Linked DNA regions of Homo sapiens: region 2 is linked to region 1. Evidence: promoter capture Hi-C in human tissues and cell types (Jung and others, 2019). All regions are on one chromosome and are shown on one strand. Each heading gives the region's core, a stretch centred on a gene start or on the middle of the fragment in contact. The rest is flanking DNA. Distances are from core to core; before and after follow the strand shown. Region 1 holds the start of PEF1 (penta-EF-hand domain containing 1). Region 2 has its middle 6.6 kb from the start of SPOCD1.

Region 1 (5,955 bases), core at 1,927-4,426:
CTCAAGCAATCCTCCCACCTTGGCCTCTGGAGTGGCTGGGACTCCAGACACATGCCACCATGCCTGGCTAATTTTTTAAAACTATTTTTTGTAGCGATAGGGTCTCACTATGTTGTCCAGGCTGGTTTCGAACTCCTAGGCTTAAGCGGTCCTCCTCCCTGCCTCCCAAAGTGTTGGGATTATAGGCGCGAGTCACTGCGCCTGGGCTCCATTTATCTTTTTGATAACAGGAAGGTCACTTAACCTCTCTGAGCCTCAGCTCCTCATTATAAATGGGTAATAGTCTCTATCTCAAAAGACTGTGGTGAAAATTAAACAACACATAGTACTTAGCACAACGTCTGGCACCTAGTAAGCACTCAATACATGATAATAATAACTACTAACATTGAATTCATGCTAGGCACTATTCTAGGTGCTGAGGTTAGAGGACTACATAAGAAAATGACAATTCTACAATATACATGTAAACAAAGTGGACAATTCAACTAGTGACATGTATTATGAAAAAATAAGATAGATGATGGGAATGCTTGGGGGGCAGTGTCAAGAAACTCCCCCCACCCCAGGTGATATCTGAACTGAGACCTGGATGATAAGGAGAAGCCAACCAGTGAAAAGTCAAGGGAAGACTATCCCAGACAGAGGGAAAAGCTAGTCCAAAGACCTGGAGGCAGGAATGAGCAGGCAGTCAGAGACCAGCCAAAGCCAACATCCAGGAATGAGCTCTGTACATTCCAGGAATGGCACAACCAGGCCGGCATGGCTGGAATGAGGCAAGGGGGACAGCAACAGCAAGAAATGAGGCTGGAGATGCTGGTATGTGTGGCCATGAATGTCATTAGGATGAGTTTAGCTTTTATTATAAGAGTGATGGGAAGTCCCCAGGGAGTTGAAGCCAAGGAATAAGATAACCACTCTGGCTGCCTGTGGAGAAAATGAAGCGTGGGGAGAAGAGTGAGAGCAGGAACATTGGTCAGTCGGCTATTGTAGTGATCCAGGCACGGATGATAGTGTCTTGGACTACAGTGATAGTGCGAACAGGGAGAAAAGAGCAGATGTGTACATGTTTGAATTAGAGCAAATGGAGATGAGGGAGGTGAGGGAGTGTGTGGAGAAAAAAAGGACACACAGGAATGATCTTAGGTTTTTGGCCTGAGAGACTGGGTGGATTTTCTGAGATGGAGAGGAATGGGTTTTGGGGAAAACACCAAAAGAAAACTCTTATACAAGGCAGGCTGGAATACCACACAGTGACAGTACCAAGTGCAAAGGGGGAGTGGCAAGAGAGAGTGGCTAACTCTGGAGCTAAGGGGAATGTGGGAGGGTTAGGTGGAGAATGGAATTGGAACTGAGCCTTGCAGGACTGGAGTTGGGAGGGCTGCTGGTCCAGGTGAAAGGAGTGGTTTGAACCTAAGTTTGGGGCATGAGCAGGTATAATAAGCTCATTTTCAAATTTACACATTTGTTCCTGTCAGCTAAGAAAAGTGAAATTTAGAGAGGTTAAATAACTTGCCTAAATAAAATGTGGTAGATATACACTGTGGAATACTATGCAGCCATAAAAAAGGAACAAGATCATGTCCTTTGCAGGGACGTGGATGGAATTGGAAGCCATTATCCTCAGCAAACTAACAGAGAAACAGAAAACCAAACACCGCATGTTACCACTTATAAGTGGGAGCTGAATGAGGAGAGCACATACACCACTGGGGTCTGTCGGAGCGTAGAGGGAGGTGGGAAGAGGGAGAGCATCAGGAAGAATAGCTAATGGATGCTGGGCTTAACACTTGGGTGATGGGATGATGTGTGCGACAAACCACCATGGCACACATTTACCTATGTAACAAACCACATCCTGCTCATATACCCCTGATCTTAAAAGTTGGAAATTAAAAACAAACAAACAAAAAACCTGCCTAAGGTGATACAGTTAGAAAGTGATAAAACAAAGATCCTCCCTCCAAAGCAGAAGTGCTGAATGGTGGAACTGAGCACAGAAATACAGAGTAGCAGAAGGGGCCGTAAGATTGGAAAGTTGAGGCTGGGCCAGATTCTGAAGGGCCTGGAGTACCAGAATGAAGAGATTGGGCCTTATTTTGTAGGCGTGGATGAAGAGCATCCATTGTAGGCTGTGTAGTGGGCAAGTGGCATGATCAGCACTGTGATTTTGGAAAGTGCACTTGGTTAGATAGATGGACTAGACTGGATAACAGTTCGTAACATTCATTTATTCATTTATTTTAATAATCGTGTCAGTCGCTATACTAGGTACTGGAGTTATAATGACAAGCAAAAACAGACAAAACCCTAGCCCACATGAAAGAACTTGACAAAGAAATCAAATAAGCACACAAATAAGTGTAGAAACGGAACCACTGAGTGGCAAGTACATGGTGCTGAGATCACTCGGTCACCAGGATTTGACCTACGATGGGGACCGACCTAGACCTCCCTGCTGAGAACTGGACATCCATTGACCCCGGTTCTAGGCGACCCACTGTGAGCTAGGGCAAGGCAACTGCCTCTCTGCACCTCAGTTTCCCCATTTATGAAGAAAGAGGCACTAGATAATTCAATTTTCCTCCAACTCTAATGATCTGGGGTTTTTTTCTCCAAAGACCACAGATCTGTATCCCACTACAAGGGTACTAACTGGTACCCAGTACCTTGACATTAGAGGAGTAATTCCGCCATCGCCTCTCCCTACCGGGAAGAGTCGGTCGGTTCCCCGTTGTCAGGGCAACCGCCTGGCCACCGCCCCTCGTCTCCTTTCCCGCGGCTCATCTGCGGAAACTCAGGAGCTACTCCAGCAATTACGTCACTATCATGCGTCCCATTTGCCAGGTTATAACATGGCTACCGCAGCAACACCCCACCCAGGCTTCTCACTAAATTTCCCAACCTGACCACCTCTTCGGCCCACTCCACCTCAGGAAAAGGAGGAACATTAGCGCTGGTACAGCCGCCAAGACTTCCGGAAGCTCCATCAATCACTTAGCTCCCCTGGTCTCTCGGGTAGGCATCCGCCCACCGCCCCCATCGTCACTTCCGTCGGCCGACAGCACCCAAGATTGACAGGCGCGGACGTCCAATCAGATGCGGGCCCAGCCCCAAAGCCGAGACGAGGGGCGGGTTTGAGAGCGGAAAGCCCCACCCCTTGCCTGAGTGTGACGTCAGAATCACCATGGCCAGCTATCCTTACCGGCAGGTGAGTGTGTGAGGGGCCCGCGAATCCAGGTAGCGGCGGTGCCAGGCGCAGGCCCGACGTCCCCCTGCTCTTTCTCCCCGCTTTCTCCGCGCCCTTCCCACGATGGGTTCGCTTCAGCGAGGCCTTGCGCTGTAGAGAACCGAAAAGGGACCGTCGGTCGCGCCCTGCTCACGTCATGAAGGACCGCACATTCGCGAGGTCGTGTCGCGCCCCCTTGACGTCGCTCACTCGAGGATTTGGGGACCTTGGACCCCACAGGTCCAGGCTGGCGCTGGCCTGGGCTCCACAGCCTCCCAAGGCCCTCATGGGGGCCTTGGGCGGGGGCATCAGCCATGACCGGAGGTTTAGAGTTCTGGTTCCGCCGATCTCATTTGGGGCGTCGGATAAAAATCCAGGCTTCCGGACCCACCCCACACTGCATCAGAGTCATCAGGAAACTCTGGTTGTAGCAGGCGCCACAAGTGAGCTGGTTTGACCACTGACTTAGTTCAACACCGCCATTTCGCGTGTAGAAAAGTGAACCCCGAGAAGACACAGAACTTACCTGAAGTCACCAGGCAGTTAGGCAGCAGGGCCGAGGTCAGAACCCGGGCTATCTTCAGATGCCTCTTCCCCAGCGTATCTTGATTCAGTCAGGAATACCGCAGCAAGGTGATTCTGTGGCCAGAATTCTTTGTTGGGTGATAGTAGGGTGTTGAAGTGCACTTTGGTGTCAGAGGTAGGTTCATATCTTAGCTCTACCACCTAAATAGTTGTGAGCCCTTGAGCAAGCTGTTTTGCCTTTCTGAGTCCAAGTTTCCGCCTGTAAAATAGGGCCGAATAATAGGATCTGCCTCATAAAGCTGTTGTGGAGAGTCAGGAGGTGATGCTTACGAAGCGTTTGGTACATAGTGAGGTGTAACATGTGTTGCCCTTTAGCATTTTGATTTTTAGTAGACTTCTAAAAGGCCAGTGCCCGGAGGGTCCTCAAAATAGAGCCCTCATTTTACAGAGGAGGAAATGAAGCCCACAGAGGGCTGCGATCACACAGTTATTTAGGAGATGAAATCCATAAACGAAATGTGGGAAAACAAGATCAATTGGTATATTACACAGTGCTCAACTGAGTTTAGTCACAGGCCAAAAGATGTAACAGTCCTTCCAGGGAGTGCAGTCTTGTGCGGGTTACACAGTGTTTGGACCTCCATTATCCTAATCATGAAGTCCCTATCGGCATGCAGGTATTATTACCCCTAATTAACTGCTGAGGAGCAAACCCAAAGAGGTTAAGTGGCTTCCCAAAAGTCACACGTAGTAAGTGAGGGTGAGGCCATGACCAGAGCTTAGGACTTCTCTTATTGCATCCTTAGAGAGAGGTAGGAAAGAGAGAGGCCAGTGCGGGCTGGAGTTAGGAAGTGTAGCATAGCAGTTGCTTCCTAAAGTCCATTCCATTTGCTGAGTCTTGGGAGGTTTTAATAGATATTGTTAATATAGGAGGATTCTGTAGTTAACTAAAGTTTTGGAAATACTCTTAAGTATAGCTGAATAAGTTTATTGACCACAAGCTATTTCAGAATCCTTAATTTGCTAATGTACATTGTAAATCATCCAGAAAGGAATATAATATGCAGTATTTCTTAAACATATCTAACCATAGAAACTCCGCCTCCCGGCTTTCTTTTCAGATGTCTGGTCACTTTTTTGACTCTAGTATTTCTGAGGAACACAGGCTGAAAAAACATTCATAGCGCCTTGTTTCCCAGTGGCTGGTCTTCTGCCTCAGAATCAGCTGAGAGCTTGTTTAAGAAAGCACACTTTTGGGTCCCACTTCAGACCTGTTCTGTACCCAGGAATCTACATGCTAATAAGCATTAGGGACAATTGGTGTGCATCCTAAAAGCAGTGACAGGTTAGAGAGAACTGTGCTAGAATTCTAGCTGTATTACTTAATAGTTATATACCCCTGGACAAACTAAGGGCTCTGAGCCTCAGCTTCCTCACCTGTATAAAGGGAGAAATAATACCTGTGAAAAGGGCTAAAATGAGGTTAAAATGCAGGGAGCCTGGCGTGTTGCTAGTGCCTAGTACATGCCAGTGTCTGGTGGCAGCTCTTGCTGCCGTGACTGCTCTCATGATGCCATGCTGCCTGGGCTATTCCTGGAGTGAAATACTGAAAAGGAGCACAGAGAGAAGAGTCTGGAATAGAAAAAGAAATGTTGTTTTTTTTTCCTACCATACCCTTGTCCGCCTCCTGGTCTCAGGTGTTCTAAGAAAGGAAACGAGTTGTTTTAAAGCATCTCAGTCAGTGCTGCCTCCCCTCCACCCACTACATAGCTTTGGAGGATTCCAGCCTATTGTTAGGAGTCAGAATTCCTGTAATTTTCCACTGCTTCCAGTCCAGGGTACCCAAGCAGGGACTGGGTATTGGAGTAGTAAAATTCAAGCACCCTTTGGTCCTATGGGGGAACGAGCTTGGTGGATTTCAGTGCTTAAGAGCTTAGTTTTTGAGGCCAGAGAGAGTTGATTTCAAATCCCTGCTTTGTCACTCCCTTGCAGAAGTTTGTTGCAAAAGTCTGAGACTCAGTTTTCCCTTTTTTGAAAAAAATTTTTTATTTATTTGTTTATTTTTAAGACAGAGTCTTGCTCTGTCGCCCAGGCTGGAGTGCAATGGCACAATCTTGGCTCACTGCAACCTCCGTCTCCCGGGTTCAAGCAGTTCTCCTGCCTCAGCCTCCCAAGTAGCTGGAATTACAGGCGCACGCCAC
Region 2 (5,955 bases), core at 946-3,445, 180 kb before region 1:
GTGAAACCCTGTCTCTACTAAAAATACAAAAAAATTAGCCAGGCGTGGTGGCGGATGCCTGTAGTCCCAGATACTTGGGAGGCTGAAGCAGGAGAATGGCGTGAACCCGGGAGGCGGGACTTGCAGTGAGCCGAGATCACGCCACTGCACTCCAGCCTGGGCGACAGAGCAAGACTCCGTCTCAAAAAAAAAAAAAAAGAAAAGAAAAGAAAAAAAAAAAAAGAAAATGCAAGAGGAGAAAAGAAGCAATTGAGAAAGAGCCACTGTCAACATTCTGGTGGATTTCCTTCCATTCTCTTCCTTTGCTTAACAGCACATTATGACACTTCCTCCACATCATTCAATATTCTTTGAAAACACTACCTCTCTCTACCTTAAAATTCTTTTTTTTTTTTTTTTTTTGAGATGGAGTCTCGTTCTGTTGCCCAGGCTGGAGTGCAGTGGCACAATCTCAGCTCACTGCAACCTCCACCTCCTGGGTTCAAGCGATTCTCTTGCCTCAACCTCCCGACAAGCTGGGATTACAGATGCCCGGCAACACGCCCAGCTAATTTTTGTATTTTTAGTAGAGACGGGGTTTTGCCATGTTGGCCAGGCTGGTCTCGAACTCCTGACTTCAAATGATCTGCCCGCCTCAGCCTCCCAAAGTGTTGGGATTATAGGCGTGAGCCACTGTCTCCAGCCTTTAAAATTCTTAAAGTAGTAATTTGGCAGTGGAGAAGTCTGGAAAGCACTTTCTACCAAGCGGTGGAGGTTAATATCACCTGTGGCTACCACGCACCCCCTCCTCTGATGTGAGAAGGCATTTTCCCTGTGCGGCATTCTTTCCAAAACCCCTGAGACCAGTTTAATCTGGAGAAAAGCATCAGGGAAATCCAAATTAAGAAACACTCTACAAAATACCTGACGATTACTCCTCAAAACTGTCAAGGTCATGAAAAACAAGGAATGACTGAGAAACTGTCACAGATCAGAGGAGACTAAGGGCATGGTAGCTAATGCAACGTGGTAGCCCGCACGGGAGCCTGGAACAGACAGAGGACCTGAAGGGGAAAACTGGTGGAATCCACATAAAGTTGGAGTTTAGTTAATAGTAATGTACCAATGTTGGTTTCTTAGTTTACGCAGAGACCACAGTAATAGAAGATGTTAACAATGACAGAAAATAGGTGAGGGGTAGATGGAACTTCTTATATTTTTGTAACTTTTTTGTAAGTCTAAAATTATTCCAAAATAAATAATTTATCAGGGAAAAAAAATCCACAAACCCCCAAACAGTCTTTCCTTGGCTTCCTCGAAGTCGTGCCATTGTGTTCTTCCTCCCTCTCTGACTGCCTCTGGGTGTGTTTTCATATTAAACGACAGGCACCACCTTAGGCCCTGTGAATGAGCTGGCCAACAAGGCAGACCCAGTCTGGTTCTCGCCCTTGTGGGAATACAGTCTGGCGGAGGGACTTTGGATGGAGCTGGACTTGAGGTTGGACATAGTTCCGCTTATCTCCAGCGGAGCAATCCCTAGCAAGTCATGGATTTGAAGCCCACCTTTCCTCCTCTGTAAAAAATGAATAATGAGCAGGGTGCAGTGGCTCATACCTGAATTCCCAGCACTTTGAGAGACTGAGGCAGGAGGATCACTTGAGCCCAGGAGGTCACTTGAGCCCAAGAGTTAGAGGCTGCAGTGAGCTGTAATCATGCCACTGCACTTAAGCTAGGTGACACAGCATGACCCTGTCTCTGAAAAACAAAAAAAAAACAAAAAACCCCACAAAACTATATTAGCTAAATACTACCACAAGGAAGCAGTTACCAATATTAATATCAGAAAAACTGAATTAAAGCAGAAGAACATTAATAGGAAGAAAAGGCACATTTGGCACTGATGAAAGTTATAATCTCCAAAAAAGATGTAAAAATTTATGAATTTGCATGCTCCTAAAAAAGTGTTTTTAAATATATATAAAGCAGGAACTTACAGAGGTAAAGGGAAAAAATTGACACGTTCGTAATAATTGTGTGAGATTTAAAACATTTTTTTTTTTGAGATGGAGTCTCGCTCTGTTGCCCAGGCTGGAGTGCAGTGGCACAACCTTGGTTCACTGTAACCTCTGCCTCCCGGGTTTAAGCGATTCTCCTGCCTCAGCCTCCCGAGTAGCTGGGATTACAGGTGCCTGCCACCATGCCCAGCTAATTTTTGTATTTTTAGTAGAGACAGGTTTTCGCCACATTAGCCAGGATGGTCTCGAACTCCTGACCTCAAGTGATCTGCCTGTCTTGGCCTACCAAAGTGCTGGGATTCCAGGCGTGAGCCACTGTGCCCAGCCGATTTTTTAAAATTTTATTTAAAAGTTTTTTTTAGAGACAGGGCCTCACTCTGTTACCCAGGTTGGAGTGCAGTGGTGCTATCATAGCTCACAGAAGCCTTGAACTCCTGGGCTCAAGCAATCCTCCACATCCTAGTATGCCTTCCTGTAGAGGATAGAAAGCCAAAACTCTTTCACAGATTCCCTTACAATGAGTGTTTCAGATGTGAATTATTTTCCAACACTTACTGCTATTGTGCAAGATCTGAAAAGCAGATGAGAGGCCAAGACCATTGTCCTTTTCCGTGGGCTGTTACTGCTTCCAAGCACAACTGTGGAGCTATCGAGTTTGCCCGCATCAATGTCTGGCCCCTAGTGTTGTGTATGTGGGCAGTAGAAGCAGCAGTGGCAGTGCCTGTATTAGACCTTTGTATTGTTACCCTAGCAGTGTATTTATAAATACAGTTCTAATGTGTGTTCTAGGCCCAGCCTCGGGTCCACTCCTATAGCCTGCCAGTGACTTTTTTTTTTTTTTTTTCATTTTTTAGATAGGGTCTGGCTCTGTCACCCAGGCTGGAGTTCAGTGGTGCGATCTCGGCTCTCTACAACCTCTGCCTCCTGGGCTCAAGCCATCCTCCTACCTCAGCCTTCTAAGTAGCTGGGACTACAGGGATGCGCCACCACATCCGGCTAATTTTTGTACTTTTTGTAGAGATGGGGTTTTGCCATGTTGCCTGGGCTGGTTTTGAACTCCTCTAAGCTCAAGCAGTCCACCCGCCTCGGCCTCCCAAAGTGCTGGGATTACAGGCGTGAGCCACTGTGCCTGGCCTCCCAGTGACTTTTGAAACACCCAGTGCCCTGTATTAAACCTCATTGTGCTTAAAATATCTAGAGTAGTTTTTGTTTTCTGCATTGAACACTGATTTCTGTAGATTCAAGTTACTATAGATTACTATGGATTTGAAAAACATGAGTAAAAAGCTTGAGGTAAGAAAAGCTTAAACTGTTGGCCAGGTGCCGTGGCTCACACCTGTAATCCTAGCACTTTGGGAGGCCGAGGTGAGTGGATCATGAGGTCAGGAGTTCGAGACCAGCCTGGCCAACACAGTGAAACCCCCGTCTCTACTAAAAATACAACAATTAGCCGGGCACGGTGGCGGGTGCCTGTAATGCCAGCTACTCGGGAGGCTGAGGCAGGAGAATTGCTTGAACTGGGAGGTGGAGGTTGCAGTGAGCCGAGATTGCACCACTGTACTCCAGCCTGGGTGACAGAGCAAGACTCTATCTCAAAAAAAAGAAAAAAAGAAAAGAAAAAGAAAAAAAAAGGAAAAGCTTAAACTATTAAACTGAGAATTTCAATCATTTTTCAAGCATACAATGAATATTAACAATGACAGTATATCAGATCACAAAGGAAATCTTAAAAACTTAAAAAAAAAAGCAACATTATGTAGACAATTTTAACTGATCACAATGCAGTAAAAGTATATTTTCATTTTCTTTTCAATAGAGAGACGGTCTCGCTATGTTGCCTAGGCTGGTCTCAAACTCCTGAGCTCAAGGGATCCTCCAGCCTCAGCCACCAGAGTAGCTGGGATTATACACGTTCATCATCATGCCTGGCTGAAACATTTATTTATGTATGATTTATTTATTTTCAGTTAGAGATGGGGGTCTCACTATGTTGACCAGGCTGGTCTTGAACTCCTGGCCTCAAGTGATCCTCCTATCTTGGCTTCCCAAAGTGCTGGGATTACAAGCATGAGCCACCATGTCTGGCCTGAAACTACATTTATTTTTAATAATAACAGGTAGCCACCGGGTGTGATGGCTTATGCTTGTAATCCCAGTGCTTTGGGAGGCTGAGGCAGGAGGATTGCTTGAGCCCTGGAATTCAAGACCAGCCTGGGCAACATAGAGAGACTTCATCTTCACAAAAAATAGAAATGTTAGGCACTAATACTTTGTTTCCCTAGACACCCTGTCTCTAGGCTGGGAATACACGCATGCACCACCATGTCTGGCTAATTTTTGTATTTTTTATAGAGACAAGGTCTCACTGTGTTGTCTGGCTTGTCTCAAACTCCTGGGTGCAAGTGATCCTCCCACCTTGGCCTCCCAAAGTGTTGGGAGTGGGTCACTTTAGGCCACAAGTTTGAGACCAGCCTGGGCAACATAGTGAGACTCTATCTCTCCAAAATAATTTAAACTAATTTTAAAAATTAGCTTGAGGCCAATTAGTAGGCATTTAAGGCTGCAGTGAGCTATGATCACACCACTGCACTTCGGCCTGGGCAACAGAGCAAGACCCTGTTTCTTAAAAAAAAAATGAAAGAACAAGAGTAAACCAAAGGAAATAGAAGAAAGTAAATAAGAAAGGTAAAACCAGAAGATGGTGAAATAGAAAATATAATAACAACATCATAAAAAACAGAGATAAAAAAGCAAAAATCTGATTTACCAAAAAACCCTAGGATGACTGAGAGAGAGCAAGCACAAATAAATAGTATTAGGAATTAAAAGGGGACTGTAATCAATACAATAGAGATTTTTGAATCATGAGAATACTATTAATATCTTTGCAACAGGGTCTCACTCTGTCACTTAGGCTGGAGTGCAGTGGCACAATCTTGGCTCACTGCAGCCTCCATCTCCTGGGCTCAAACCATCCTCCCACCTTAGCCTCCCAATAACTGGGACTACAGGGAGTATGGGACATGCCACCACTCCTGGATAATTTTGTATTTTTTGTAGAGACAGGGCTTCACCATGTTGTCCAGACTGGCTCGAATTCCTGGGCTCAGGTGATCTGCCGCCCAGGCCTCTCGAAGTGTTGGGATTACAGGCGTGAGTCACCGCCTCCAGCATGGTGGCTCATGTCTGCAATCCCAGCACTTTGGGAAGCCGAGGTGGGAGGATTGCTTGAGTCCAGGAGTTTGAGACCAGCCTGAGCAACATAGCAAGATGCCGTTTCTACAAAAAACCAAAAATTTAGTCAGACATGGTGGTAGGCACCTGTAGTCCCAGCTACTCAGGAGGCTGAGGTGGGAGAATCATCTGAGCCCAGGTGATCATATCACTGCACTTCGGCCTGTACACAAAGCGAGACCTTATCTCAACAAAAAAAAAAGAAAGAAAAAAAAGAAAGAAAAAAGAAAACGCAATAAAAATATTAAAGAATAGAATAATTTAATTAAAATGTGCAATATTTTGATGAAGAAAAATCACAAAAATGAATTGAAGGCCTGGCAGAATGGAAATAAGGTACATTTATGGATGAGAAGACTCAGTATTATTCAATTTTATCCCTAATCTGTAAATTCGATGAAATTCTAATTTAAATCCCAGCACAATTTTTCAAGGATCTTGACAAAATGATTCTACGGTATACAGTTAGCTAAGACGATTATAAAAAATAGAAACCAAGTTGAGGGGGTGGAGCTTGCTCCCTAGATAGCAATATTTATCACAAAACCATAGAACTAAAACAATATTGATCAAGAATAGACAAATCGATCAATGGAAGAGAAAAGAAAGCCAATAAATAGGCCAGGTGTGGTGGTTCACGCACTTTGGGAGGCCGAGGCAGGTGGATCACCTGAGGTCAGGAGTTTGAGACCAGCCTGGCCAACATGGTGAAACCTCATCTCTACTA

Evidence for each region. The method cuts DNA at HindIII sites, captures the fragments that hold promoters and counts their contacts. A contact is called where the count stands out against the background at its distance.
Region 2: a fragment that was not itself captured here is called in contact with the fragment with the promoter of PEF1 in region 1 in 1 of the 25 tissues and cell types used here (dorsolateral prefrontal cortex).

What each region holds. Positions count from the first base shown.
Region 1 is chr1:31,642,097-31,648,051 of GRCh38, reverse strand. It overlaps PEF1 (penta-EF-hand domain containing 1), which reads left to right and starts at 3,176. Exons shown (of 5, transcript NM_012392.4): 1 at 3,176-3,211. The coding sequence starts at 3,188. It overlaps PEF1-AS1 (PEF1 and COL16A1 antisense RNA 1), which reads right to left and starts at 3,916. Exons shown (of 6, transcript NR_184313.1): 1 at 3,756-3,916; 2 at 3,206-3,340. RefSeq lists enhancers at 2,707-3,046, 3,287-3,356, 2,676-3,446. The HindIII fragment of the contact is 9,809 bases long and covers 1-5,955 here.
Region 2 is chr1:31,819,604-31,825,558 of GRCh38, reverse strand. No RefSeq gene overlaps it. Among named protein-coding and RNA genes, the nearest start is that of SPOCD1, 6.6 kb to the right of the region's middle. The HindIII fragment of the contact is 7,212 bases long and covers 1-5,801 here.